Regions from separate parts of the Homo sapiens genome. Here region 2 is linked to region 1. The links are contacts of gene promoters, found by promoter capture Hi-C in blood cells and fetal thymus (Javierre and others, 2016). All regions are on one chromosome and are shown on one strand. The core of a region is centred on a gene start or on the middle of the fragment in contact, and the rest is flanking DNA. Distances in the headings are between cores, read along the strand shown.

Region 1 (6,209 bases), core at 959-3,458:
TAAAAAAAAAAGAAAAAGAAACGAACTGGGGGATCCATAAGGAGAATGCTGATGTTCAAAGCTGGAAGAAAAATGATTCCATCTACTCTTTGGTTTCTAAGACAGATTGGAGATTCAAAGCCAAAGAAAAAGTCATGCTGGCATAAGATAAAACCTGAGCATATTAAATTTGCTCCTATGGAAAGAAAAGAATATATGCACTAAAACAAAGGTCCCCAACCCCCAGGCCACGGACAGGCACCTAGGAACCAGGCCGCAAGGCAGGGGGTAAGCCGTAGGAGCTTCATCTGTTTCTACAGCCACTCCCCATCTGGCATTACTGCCTGAGCTCTGCCTTCCGTCGCATGAACAGGGGTGTTAGAGTCTCACAAGAGCGTGAACCCTATTGTGAACTGCGCAAGCCAGGGATCTAGGTTGCATGCTCCTTATGAGAATCTAATGCCTGATGATCTGTCACTGTCTCCCATCACCCCCAGATGGGACCATCTAGTTGCAGAAAAACAAGCTCAGGGCTCCCACTGATTCTACATTACAGTGAGTTGCATAATTATTTCATTATATGTTACAATATAATAATAGAAATAAAGTGCACAATAAATGTAATGCGCTTGAATCATCCCAAAACCATACCCCCTCTCTGAGCCATGGAAAAATTGTCTTCCATGAAACCTGTCTCTAGTGCCAAAAAGGTTGGGACCGCTGCACTAAAGGAGTGTTATGATATTGCAGATGTAGGGGCAGTCACTCAAATCTCCACAACCTACTTCTGTCATCTTCCCTCCTTTGTTCTTTCCATTTTCTTCCTCCCACAAATTCAAAGTGCCTTAGAGGTAGCACAAAGGCCCTGAGGCAAAGAGGGAGAGTAAGAGATAATACGAAGTGTTTGGAGGAAAAGGATTAAACATTTCTCCCCTCCCACTGAATCCTGGATTTAAGAAATGGTGTAAGATGAACTTGACAACTAGCACCTATTTGTTTAAGGTGGAAAATGCAATGCTCAGGACTCAAGACCAGTTGAGATAGGTTTGCTTGGTATTGACTAGGATATTGAACCCTGAGGGCCTCTCCTCTTGCTTTTACAGATCTCATCCTCAGCAATCCCCAAGCACTAGATTTTTTTTTTTTTTTTTTTTTTTTTTTTTACAGGTACAGATGCAAAAAGAGTTAAAACATCGGGTTTAAAAAAAAAATTAGTGGCTGGGCACAGAGGCTCACAACTGTAATCCCAGAGCTTTGGGAGGCCGAGGGGGTAGAATCACCTGACTAACATGGTGAAACCCCATCTCTACTAAAAATACAAAATTAGCCGGGCATGGTGGTGCTCGCCCGTAATCCCAGCTGCTCGGGAGGCTGAGGCAGGAGAATCGCTTGAACCTGGGAGGCAGAGGTTACAGAGAGCTGAGATCGCGCCACTACTCTCCAGCCTGGGCAACTGGGCAACAAGAGGGAAACTCCGTCTCAAAAAAAAAAAAAAAAAAAAGTTGAGAGTAACACCATGTGAAGGAGACAGGCACATTCCAAAAGAAAACAAGTGCATGTCGGAGCAAGGCAGTCGGTGGCTGGAGCACAGTTAGAGTAACGTGGGAGGAGCTGTGGAGACGCAGCCACGGGTCACGCCAGGGCCCTGCACACCATGCAGAGGAAAGGAAGAGCTCAGTGCGCCAGGGTTTCATACAGCCGCTCTCTCAGGCCCCAAGGAAACGTCTAGAGCGCACAGGCGGACTCACCCCAGACTGTTCGAACCGTCCCTGAGCGCCCGCCCTCGTCTCCCGGCACCACTGGCCCCGCAGCAGCCAGTTGAGAAGGGCGGAGGCTGATTCCAATGAAGTGGCAGACCGTTAGGCGGCCTCTCCAAAAAGCCAGCTATGTCGCCGTTAGCCAAGGTTTGAGGGTCTTCTCCTTCTCTTCGAGGGCCCAACCTCCCCTCCAGATTTAGTACACCAGAGGCGTCGCAGCAACGGCTGCTGCCTGCGCGCCTCAGCTAGGCGGGCTCGGATATTTTTAAGGCCACATTGGAAATCCCGGGCATGCTCCCGCCGGCGGAGAAGGCCCAGACAAAATGTGCGCCAATCAGGATACAGACTTGGAGGACGTTTACCCTCAGGACCAATAAGAGGGAGGGCGGACCGGGCCAAGGGTGCCGGTTCGCTCTCCGGATTTAAACCTCAGCGGTCGGCGGTTAACCGCAGGCTCGGCGCGTGGGCCGGCAGTGCGCCTGCGCAAGTTACGCGAAAGCTAACAGAATCTGCGGTGCTCTGCTGGCGACTGGCAGGACGCGGTGCAGAGAGCGGACTTCCGCGACGCGGGTAAGCCGGGCGAAGGCCGGAAGCGGAGGGACGCGGGGACCTGGTGGCTGCCGGCCCACTGCGGCGGGAGCCCTCGCTCCTTTTCCCACCGTCGGGACGGTGCAGAGTGGCAGCTTCCCTCCGTGGATTCCAGGTCCTGCCTGGCGAGCCGTCCCCAACGTCTGCGTTCCTGAGGGAGGCGGCCGGGGCAGCGTGAGCTACAGGCGATGTGCGCGGCGGGCCGCAGCCCCTGGAGGTCACGGTGTGCGCTGGCCGCCGCCGCGGTCTTTGCCCCGGTGGCCTTTCTGAGCTCCTGGGCCGCGCCCCTGGGACCAGGCGGAGGCCGGGGACGGCCCCAGGGCTGGAGGGGAGTCCCGAAGGCCGCTAGCGACCTGGGTCCAAGCCACGCCCACGGCCAGGCGGGGCGACTGCGAGCTTTGCCGTTGAAAGGCGGAGCGTGTCTTGTCGCCTTCTAGCTGCACCTTTTGTGGACTGCAGCATGGAACCGTCCAAGGTGTTTGTCCACCCCGAAATGGAAATAAATCTTTTTTATTCTAAACAGTATACAATCTCACTAAGCAGGCAAAGAAAAACATTAAGATATCTTTTTAGATTGGTAAGATTTTTCAGTACCCCATGCTGCTGAGAGAGTGAAGAAATGAAAGCAAGCACCTTTATGGCCTGTGTGCTGGGGATAATCTGTTTTTCTAGAGGGCAGTTTGGCATTATAAATCAGAATTCAGGCCGGGCGCGGTGGCTCACGCCTGTTACCCCAGCACTTTGGGAGGCCGAGGTGGGCGGATCACGTGAGGTCAGGAGTTCGAGACCAGCCCGACCAATACGGTGAAACCCCGTCTCTACTAAAAATACAAAAATTGGCCGGGCTTGGTGGCGGGCGCCTGTAGTCCCAGCTCCTCGGGAGGCCGAGACAGGAGAATCTCTTGAACCCGGGAGGGAGAGGTTGCAGTGAGCCGAGATCGCGCCACTGCACTCCAGCCTGGGCGACCGAGCAAGACTCTTGTCTCAAAAAAAAAAAAAAAAAAGAGAAAAGAAAAACATAAATCAGAATTCAAGTAGTACCATAACTTCTAAGTCATAATCCAATTCCAGGAGTTTATTCCAAGGACATAAATCGGACAAGAATGCAAACATAGTATGTACATGTTTTTAGCAATCCGAGCAACATTTAGTACGTGTAAAGAAGAAAGAAAATACTCGAAATTTCATCAGTCACAGATAACCATCAAACACTGTTCACATTTAGGTTTACTTCAGATATATTCATAATATATACCTTATATTTATGTGATTTCCTTATAAAATGTGTTTTAAATAATTGCATGTTACAAATATAATAAAGTATGTTAATTTAAAAGAACGTCAGTTAAGCAGATTATACATTATTGAGTCAGTAATAAATTGGGAACACATTTCTCTGTCAGTGTCGATACGCATTACCATTTTTAATGGATGCGTGGCGTTTGTTGCTATGGCTGTATTGTATCATATATTATTTAACCAGTCCCCTACTAATGTACATTTGTTTCCAGTCTCTTCATAATCATAAAATGGTATGGTAGTGGTCACTTGTATGTATACATGTTTGCATTCTTGTCCAATTTATGTCCTTGGAATAAATTCCTGGAAGTGGATTATGACTTAGAAGTTGTGGTACAGTTTAAATTCTGATTCAAAATGCCAAACTGGGCCGGGCGCGGTGGCTCACACCTGTAATCCCAAGCACTTTGGGAGGCGGAGGCGGGCGGATCACTTGAGATTGGGAGTTTGAAACCAGCCTGGCCAACATGGTGAAACCAAGTCTCTACTAAAAATAGAAGAAAAATTAGCCGGGCGTGGTGGCAGGTGCCTGTGATCCCAGCTACTCGGGAGGCTGAGGCAGGAGAATCGCTTGAACCTGAGAGGCAGAGGTTGCGGTGAGCCGAGATCAGGCCACCGCAACTCCAGCCTGGGCGACAGAGAGAGACTCGTCTCAAAAAACAACAACAATAATAATAATGCCAAACTGCCCTCTGGAAAAACGGATTATCCCCAACACACAGGGCATAATAAGGATGCTTGTTTTTATTTCTTCACACACTTGCCAGCACCGGGTACTGAAAAAATCTTATCAATCTGAAATGATGTCTTAATGCTTTTATACACATTACTGAAATTGAACATGTTTTCTGTTTATTAATTTTTGTTGCTGTTTAGAAACAGACGTTGGCTTTGTGCCCAGGCTGGAGTGCAGTGGCCAGATCATAGCTCAGTGCAGCCTCAAACTCCAGGGTTCAAGCGGTCCTCTTGCTTCAGCCCCCATAGTACTGAGACTACAGGTTTATGCCACCACGCCTAGCTAATCTTTTTTCTTTTTTTTTGAGAGATGGGGGTCTTGCTGTGTTGCACAGGCTGGTCTTGAACTCCTTCACAGCCTCAAGCGATCCTCCCACCTCAGCCTCCAAAGTGCTGGAATTACAGGCATGAGCCACTGCGCCCAGCTGTTTGTTAGTTATTATTCGTTTGGTACGGCATCTGTCTTTTCTCCCCTATCTTACTGATAATGTGTACCCTTTAATAGCTTTCTAAGAGGAATTCAAATTACTGATTTTTAAACGTGTTACAAGTATTTCTCCCAGTTTGTTGTCTCTTTTGCCTTCATTATGGTATTGTTTGCCTTTGTGGTAGGATGTTTTGTTTTGTTTTAATACTGTGATTCTTTAAGCTGCTTGCTTACCTCCCCAGAGGTGGAGAAATTTGTTATAACTCTGCAATAGCCTCCCTATAGCAGTCTACTGACCCAGTCCCTTTATCTCATTTTGAAGTCTTTGCCCCTTCTACCCTTGAAATCCTTTTGATTGTAACTAGCTAACCCTAGGATGCTGAGTCACTAAGACTTTTGAAGAGAAGATATGGTTAGGTATTTCGGTCAATGTTGTCTGTGTTTACAGAATACAAGTTGCTCTAGCTTTTATGTGAAAGTTTCCCTCTAAAGAGAAAGGATTGTTCGATCTTTTATATTAGAAAGAGAAGGAACTGACAGTTACCTATGGACCTTATTAAAGTTTCTATTTTATTTATTGTTTGCAAACATCATCTTCATATGTTCAAGGAAAAAAATAGGAGTGTGACACAGTTGAAATGCAGAGGAAATAACACATTAATCACTGTATAGTAGGACACATGCCATTAAAAAAAAAAACTAACTCTTGGCTTTACTGCCAAAAATCCTCCTAGCCCAGAGTCTCACAAATCGTTATTTATGTATAAATATATAAAAAGTGTCATTTAAATTTCACAACCTAAATAGTTCCTTTATTCCAACATTTATTTAGTCCTTACCATGGGCCAGAGACTTCGGATTTGTACAAATGCTGTCTAAGAGAGCAAGTACTTTTGCAAAGTTGCATTTGGGGGCTTCCCATTTGTTCCACCTGTGATGACTGTCTTGACTTTTTCTATGGCAACTACCAAAAATGTAGTCACTAAATTCTTACTCTTCTAGATTGGATAATATAATCTAGCCAGACTTGAAGGGATTTTACTTAAGATCTAAGACCCTGATCTTCTGATTCCTTTGCTTCTACACAGTATCCTAACAATGACTTATGGTTAGTGCATTTTGTTCCATGTATCACTGCTTCAGAGTTAATTTTTTTAAACTCTATTCTTCTTTTCTAGGTTTTTTTTTTACTTGAATGTAAATACCAATCAAGATACATTGAAATAAGGTAAGAAATTGAAAAAAAAAAAAAAAAACCTTGGTTTGCACTTACATATTTAAGTTATTCCACCATGATCATTGATTACATGAAAAAGAGGATCTTTAAATCAAAAGTAAAGGCCAAAGTAATTATATTTTAAGAATACTCAGGACATAATGAAGTGTTGATAGACTGGGTCCCAAAAAGCAGTGATAATGATTCA
Region 2 (6,209 bases), core at 1,873-4,372, 1.0 Mb before region 1:
CCTCCCTGCTTCCTGCTACTCTCTCTTCTTTCTGCCAAATCTCCTTCAAAACCTCTGTTTCTTTTTCTTACCCTTTCTAAAGTCTGGACTGTACATATTGTTGGTAAAACTCTGGGAAAGAAGTAGTTTCCTGAGGTGGTAGAAGAGAGGGTCTCTAAACCCAACTCTGACTCTTTCTCCAGCCCAAGGTGGAAATTTATAAGTCAACAGAATGAATGCACCCCGGCTGAGGCTCCTCCAATTGCAGGGCATCTACTCAGTGTTTTAGGTGCTGTACAGGCACTTACAGTTGACAAATTAGGAAATGGACATAGTTGCAAAGAGTTGCATACCCACTCCAGAAAAAGGACAAAGAGTTGTCTTGGTAATTTTCAGAGAGCAGAGCAGGCAGTGAGGAGACTAGTAGGAGGCAAACCCCTTTCAGAACTGCCTATGGGGGTAGCCAGGAGAGAAGCTGGATGTGGACAGGGGCAGGGCCAGTTTCTAGGCTGCCTGTCTGACCCTCAGTAAAGAAGAGAAGGTGGGGAGAGGGCTGCAGAAGAGCTGGGAGGTGTGACTTCTGCTGGGCCTTCTCTGCCCACTCTCTGCTCCACTCTGCCTAGCCCAGGGCCGTAAGGACACTAGAGAATGGGAAGGAAAAGGGAGGGAACTTAGGTTATGGTTGGGAGGTATTTATTCTCTGATATCCCCAGTTGGGAGAACTCAGCCCTCTTGGCTTAGATCTGAGTTTGGTTTAAAAGGAGAGTATCATCAAGATAAAGAGAAGTACAAAGAAGGAAAGAGCAGAGAGAAACAAGAAAAAGTGGAGAGTGAAAATTAGAGAGAGCCCAGACGAGGTGAAGTGTAGGAGAGACAGCAGATTCCTGGAAAGTAGAGTGGCCCGGCTATTTGTCCAGCCTCCAAACCCACGTGACAGGGACTGTGAAGCAGCCTTGCTCACGGGTTGAGCCGCGCCTCCGCTCAGGGAACCCTGAGCAAATACGCCCTGATCCCCACATAAAGGGCCAATTAACTGCGCCGTCTCCGGGAACAAATCCGCTAACAGGGTGACAAGCCCCTAGACGCTGGCAGGCCCTGTGTTTGCGGAGAGGCCAGCCGGGAGCAAATCAGGGCATTAGGACCGGGCAGGAGCCGCATGGTGGGAGGGTTTCTGGCCCCCTCCGCCCCAGAGTAGGGCCTGGTACCAGGACGTGGGGTTTCTATCCCGATTCAGCCTCTGCTGTGATGGAACCCAGGTGACCGCGGTCAGCAGGGGGCGGAGCAAAGGGCCCCGGAGCCTCGAATCTCACAGGTCAGAGTAGATCAAGCACTCCAATTCCTCCTTAACAGATGGGAAAACTGAGATCCAAAGCGGTGACGTCTTGTACTTGGCAAACGTAGAATTAGAACCCACTTCTGTGTTGGTCATTCCTGAAGGATAGATTTCGGGTGGGAAATACATCCCTTACTTTCTCTCTTATCTGAATACCACCCTGGAGCGAGGAAGGGAGGGGCGTCAAATCTCTTATTATCTTCTTGCTTTTGAAAGGATGTGTCTCTAGCCCGTCTCCCACCTACCCCAGTCCTCAGCCTCAGGGTCTGCTCGGATTTATGTCTTCCCTGGGGGCTCCAGGGCCCTAGTCAGGCACCTGCAGATGAGGTGCTGAAAAGGACAGCTCCCAGGGCGCTGCGTGGCGGTGGGGTGGGGGGTCCATCCGGCCCCACCCCCACTCCCACCTACCCCCTCCCCCACACCTAGTGCTTCCAGCCTTTCTACGTCCCGCCCAGAACTGCTAGGGTTGGAAGGCACCTAAACACCCATAGTTGGAGGCTCACAGCCAGGCGCCTGGACTGAGGAAGGAGGCTTGGAACAAGCCCCCCACCCCTTGACAATGTCTCGGGTTCCCTTGAACAAGCTCTGCCTGAAATATTTCAATTCTTGATTCTGCTTACTCCAGAGTCTGCGACTGTATAGCACCCACCCCTCTGATCTCGACCCCTTTGGGGTCAGAAGCAGTCGCCCCATGAAAGTTGTCTCATCCCAGAACCTGACGGCTGAGCCAGAACTCTGGCACTGACTCTTCAATCAGCAGGGCCTTACCTCAGGTTAGGAATGCCCCGGCCTCTCTCTTTCCCTGATACCCCAAAGCCATCTCCTGTCTAGGAAAGTGAGTTTGTCGAGGTGGGTCTTCAGGTAGAAAGAACTCCAGAAAAGTCAGAAGCAGACCGCGACTGGAAGTGGGAGGTGGGAGTAGGGGCCCATGGTTTTCTTTTCGCCCCCCCCAGGAAGGACGACTGCTATCCGATTTGAACAGATTTGCACTAATTTTGCAGCAATCCCACATGCCTTTACAAAAATAATATTATCTTTGTTTTTGTCCTAGAATCCTTGGTTCCATTTCAGTCTCCTCAAAAACGTAAAACAATTTAATAAAAAATGTCAAAGCAGGGTAATGTAAAAGGATTCAAATAAATGACAGTTGCCTGGGTTTCCCTGGCTTTCAGTCTCCTACAGGAACTCCTAGATTAGGGCGTTTGGAGCAGGACTCCCGGGTCAGGGCGCGCCGCTCCATCCTCTGGCCTCCTGGCTGCAGACCAAAGGACCAGAGGGCAGAGAGGTGGACCTGTCTTGGAATTCTCTGCCTACTCCCAACTCTTGCTGCAAACCACCCCAGTCTCCTGCCCTTCCGTCGCCAAACCCCTAGACTTGGGAGGGAATGGAAACCAGAACTTTGGCAGCAAGGAGCATTGCTTGCGCTTTGCCTCAGTTTCCAAAAGGTTCGGGAAAAGAGAGGACAGATTCCTGTTCTAAAGTTGGGCAGAAGGGCAGAGTCCGACAGAGCCTCGTCCCTCATCTTGGGTGCTTTGAGACAGGGAAAATCTCTCGCCGCGTCCAGAACGGAACGCTGGGCTTGGGGTGCGGGGCGGGGACTCCAACTCGCGCGCTACGCTACTCGTGTCTCCTGCTCGGATAGTGACTGTAGAGGTAAGGGTGGGAGGGTGGAGGGAGGCGGATTAATCCCTTAATTACGCCGTGATCGGCGTGGCACCTGCTTTCCGCCTGCCCAGCTCCCAGGGGACTCCGGCACTAGGGGGTGGAGAGAAGGACGAGGGAAGGAGGAGGGCACGAAGAGGCACCGACCGTACCCAGGCGCACCGGCAGGAGAGCGGCACCGTGGCTGCCGCAGCGCGCAGAGGCTGTGGAGGGGCTTACGGCTCCCAGCCCACGGGTCTCAGACCCAGGGGCTGGGCCCCCAGCCCCCAGTCCCGATCCCAGCTGGGTCGAGCCATGCTGCGCTACCTGCTGAAAACGCTGCTGCAGATGAACTTGTTCGCGGACTCTCTGGCCGGGGACATCTCCAACTCCAGCGAGCTGCTCTTGGGCTTCAACTCCTCGCTGGCGGCGCTCAACCACACCCTGCTGCCTCCCGGCGATCCCTCTCTCAACGGTGAGACCCTGCCTCTTGGGGATATGGGATCCTGGGATGGGGATGAGGTGAGAGGGCGGCGTGGAAGGGAAGGAGAAGCGCTCCTGTCCCGAGGTCCGGGATTGAGTGGCGCCTCCCAGCGCCTCCCTGGGTCGTGGGGTCTAAGGGATAATTTGGAGCTTCGAGCACATGAGTGGGGGTACCCGCGGGAGGTCGAGGGCTTGGGAGAAGATGGCTACTGAGTCTTTTTACACCTCCTTCCCTTCCCCTACAACGCCCACCCCAGGTGAGAAGAACCGTTGCTGGTAACGGGCAGGGAAGTCCGAGCTAAGAAAGGCCCGGGCCCAGCGCAGGGAGGGCAGAGGAGGGGGCACAGTCTCCCGCCGGCCTCGGCCAAGCCAGGTCACTCGGTGACCCACCCAGGCAGCTGGTCTTCGGAACCCCGAAGTTTCCCAAGAACTCACTTAGGACCAGAGGAAGCCAAAATGCTGGATGTGTTTGCTACGGAGGGGATAGGGGCGGCGATCATTTTAAGGAAACTTAGAAGTTTGTCTTTCAGCGGCGGGACTCTCAGCCGGCCCACCCCGGCAGAGCTGTGGCGGGCGGGCGGAGCTGGCGGCGAGGTCGTTACCGCTAATTACGGTGATTAATAAATGACTGGGACAGCGCGCTCTCCCCTAGCGCCGCGGGGAAGCTGCGGGAGCCGGCCGCCGCCAGCCTGCGGAGAGGCCGGAGCGCGCCCCCTGCCTGCCGCATCGGGAACCCCCGCTTTACCGGGCGCTTTCGCGTGTGGTTCCCTCCAGGTGCACGCGGTCCCCATCCCTCTGCCTCGACCCACTCGAGTCTAGTGACGAGCACTGTGCTGGGGACTCGAAGGTGGAGAGAAAGGAGACCCTGGCAATATGTGTGTGTTCATGTGTGGGGCACATCAGGTGCTGAGGGAGGAGCCCCAGAGCCTCATTAGCATGGCCATTAGCTATTCATTAGGCTGCAGTCGAAGCATCTCCTGAGACCGGGAAGGGTAGAGGGGGAAATTCCAGGGAAAGGGCGCCTGCAGCTGTGTCTACAGGAATTAGGGGGAAAAGGCCGACCAGAAGGGTGTGGTCCGTATAGAAGGATTGGGGAGAAAGACGATGGGGGAGGAGCCCGATTCTCCAACCTCTTGACCCTCCTAGATTTCCAGGAGGTTAAGCACAGATCCCTTCTCGCTGGCACCCCGCAGAGTCCCGCTTCTGCTCACCTAGCGCGTTTACAGAGTGTTTTCACCATACTTTGTCTCATCTAAGCTCGAAACTTAGTGAGGTATGCAAGGAAGGTGTTGACAGACACATTTTGCCGCCGAGAAAACGCTTTATAGAGTGAATGGTGCCCTAATCGTCACAAAAGCAGCATGAAGCAAAACCTAGCGATAACAGATCAGTCCATTTCCATTACACCTGAGGGCTATACCAAGGGGAAAAAAGAATATTGGGGCCTGGTAGAATTTGATTCAGGTAGAGACTGTAGGAGCCAAGATAAGGTGCATATGCTGGGAACACAAGCCCTTAAATAATGGCAGAGTAGTGACGTTTATCCCCCAAGGGCTTTACATACATTATGGTCTTAGAGCAACCCTATCACTGCTCTCACATCACAAAGAAAGAAACTGAGACTGAGAGAAGTTAAATAATTTGCCCAAGTTCTTACAGCTAGGAAGCGTCAAAGTCTGAGATTCCAGCCCTGGTTGGTTCAACAGCAACACTTGCTCTCAATCACTCCAGTGTTGCTCACCACGGGGTGTTCCAAAATTGGGAATGGGAGGAGATGGAGGAGAAGAGAAGGGTGAAAAGCAGAGATTTCCATTTGGAAGGGAGGAGATGGAGAAAATTACTCTCCCAAGTGGGACAGAAATCGATCTTCTTGACTCCAGGCAATTAAAATAAACTCAGAACAGCGCCAGCACGGGTCAGCCTGTCCAGCTTTGTCTACAACAGAACTTCTAAGAGGGGGGGCAGGAAATGAAACCCAATCTCACAGGCGGGCTGGAAGCGGGAGGTTCCTGCAGATTTTGGAACAGGGTAGGAAGGGGGGAACAGGGGGAGGGGGCAGGGGGCAGAACAGATGCTTGAAGTGGTCCCTGGTTATTTTACAGCAGGTTATTAAAGGCTGCAGTGGCACCTACTGGCCGCCACGGGTTACAAATCCACTTTTGTTGGCTGGACTAGGGGCTGAGAGTGCCGGAGTATAACAGGCTCCGGGATCCTAACCGTGCTGCAGAAGGTGAAACAGGCCAAAGTCTGCAGGCCAAGTGACAGGTAGGACAGAATATGTGGATGAACTGATCGGAGTGAACAGGGGAAGTAGAGGAACATCAATCAGTAGAATAATCTATTGGAAACTATGCACCTGTCAGGAAAAGGAGCCTTACTAACATTTCTACTGCTATTTGCGTTCAATTCCTGTGACTTCACAGGACCCTTGAAATGAAGCGTGATTATCCGGGGTGTCAGTAAGAAGGGCCCTGTGCCGATTCATAGAATCCAGGTTGACAAGCCCTTCTAGGCCCGGCCCTGTCACTCCCGTCTTGCCTTTCATAAGGGATCCCAAGCCAGTCCACATTCCCAATTTCACTGAGCCAGGACCTTGCAGAAGTCAAGAACAAACTGTTGGCTCCAGTGCACGGTTTATGGTCTTTCACTGAGCAAGGACGATCCGTGAACCAGTGCAGGTGGAGATGGAAACCACTGGGCAGGAGGCGAGGGAGCGGTCTACTCGCCAAGCGTGGTTCAGCCACTCCCGCTTAAACTTGGCAGGAGAGGAGAC

What was found. The method cuts DNA at HindIII sites, captures the fragments that hold promoters and counts their contacts. A CHiCAGO score of 5 or more calls a contact.
Region 2: a contact is called between the fragment with the promoter of ROBO3 here and the fragment with the promoter of HYLS1 in region 1, in 2 of 17 cell types (naive CD8 T cells and non-activated CD4 T cells). The highest score is 10.2, in naive CD8 T cells.

Annotation. Positions count from the first base shown.
Region 1 is chr11:125,885,460-125,891,668 of GRCh38, forward strand. HYLS1 (HYLS1 centriolar and ciliogenesis associated) reads left to right here and starts at 2,209. Exons shown (of 3, transcript NM_001134793.2): 1 at 2,209-2,306; 2 at 5,964-6,013. RefSeq lists an enhancer at 1,917-1,966 and silencers at 2,107-2,156, 2,247-2,296, 2,397-2,786. The HindIII fragment of the contact is 13,277 bases long and covers 1-6,209 here.
Region 2 is chr11:124,862,310-124,868,518 of GRCh38, forward strand. ROBO3 (roundabout guidance receptor 3) reads left to right here and starts at 3,123. Exons shown (of 28, transcript NM_022370.4): 1 at 3,123-3,428. The coding sequence starts at 3,269. RefSeq lists enhancers at 598-1,099, 3,439-4,115, 6,165-6,209. The HindIII fragment of the contact is 17,224 bases long and covers 1-6,209 here.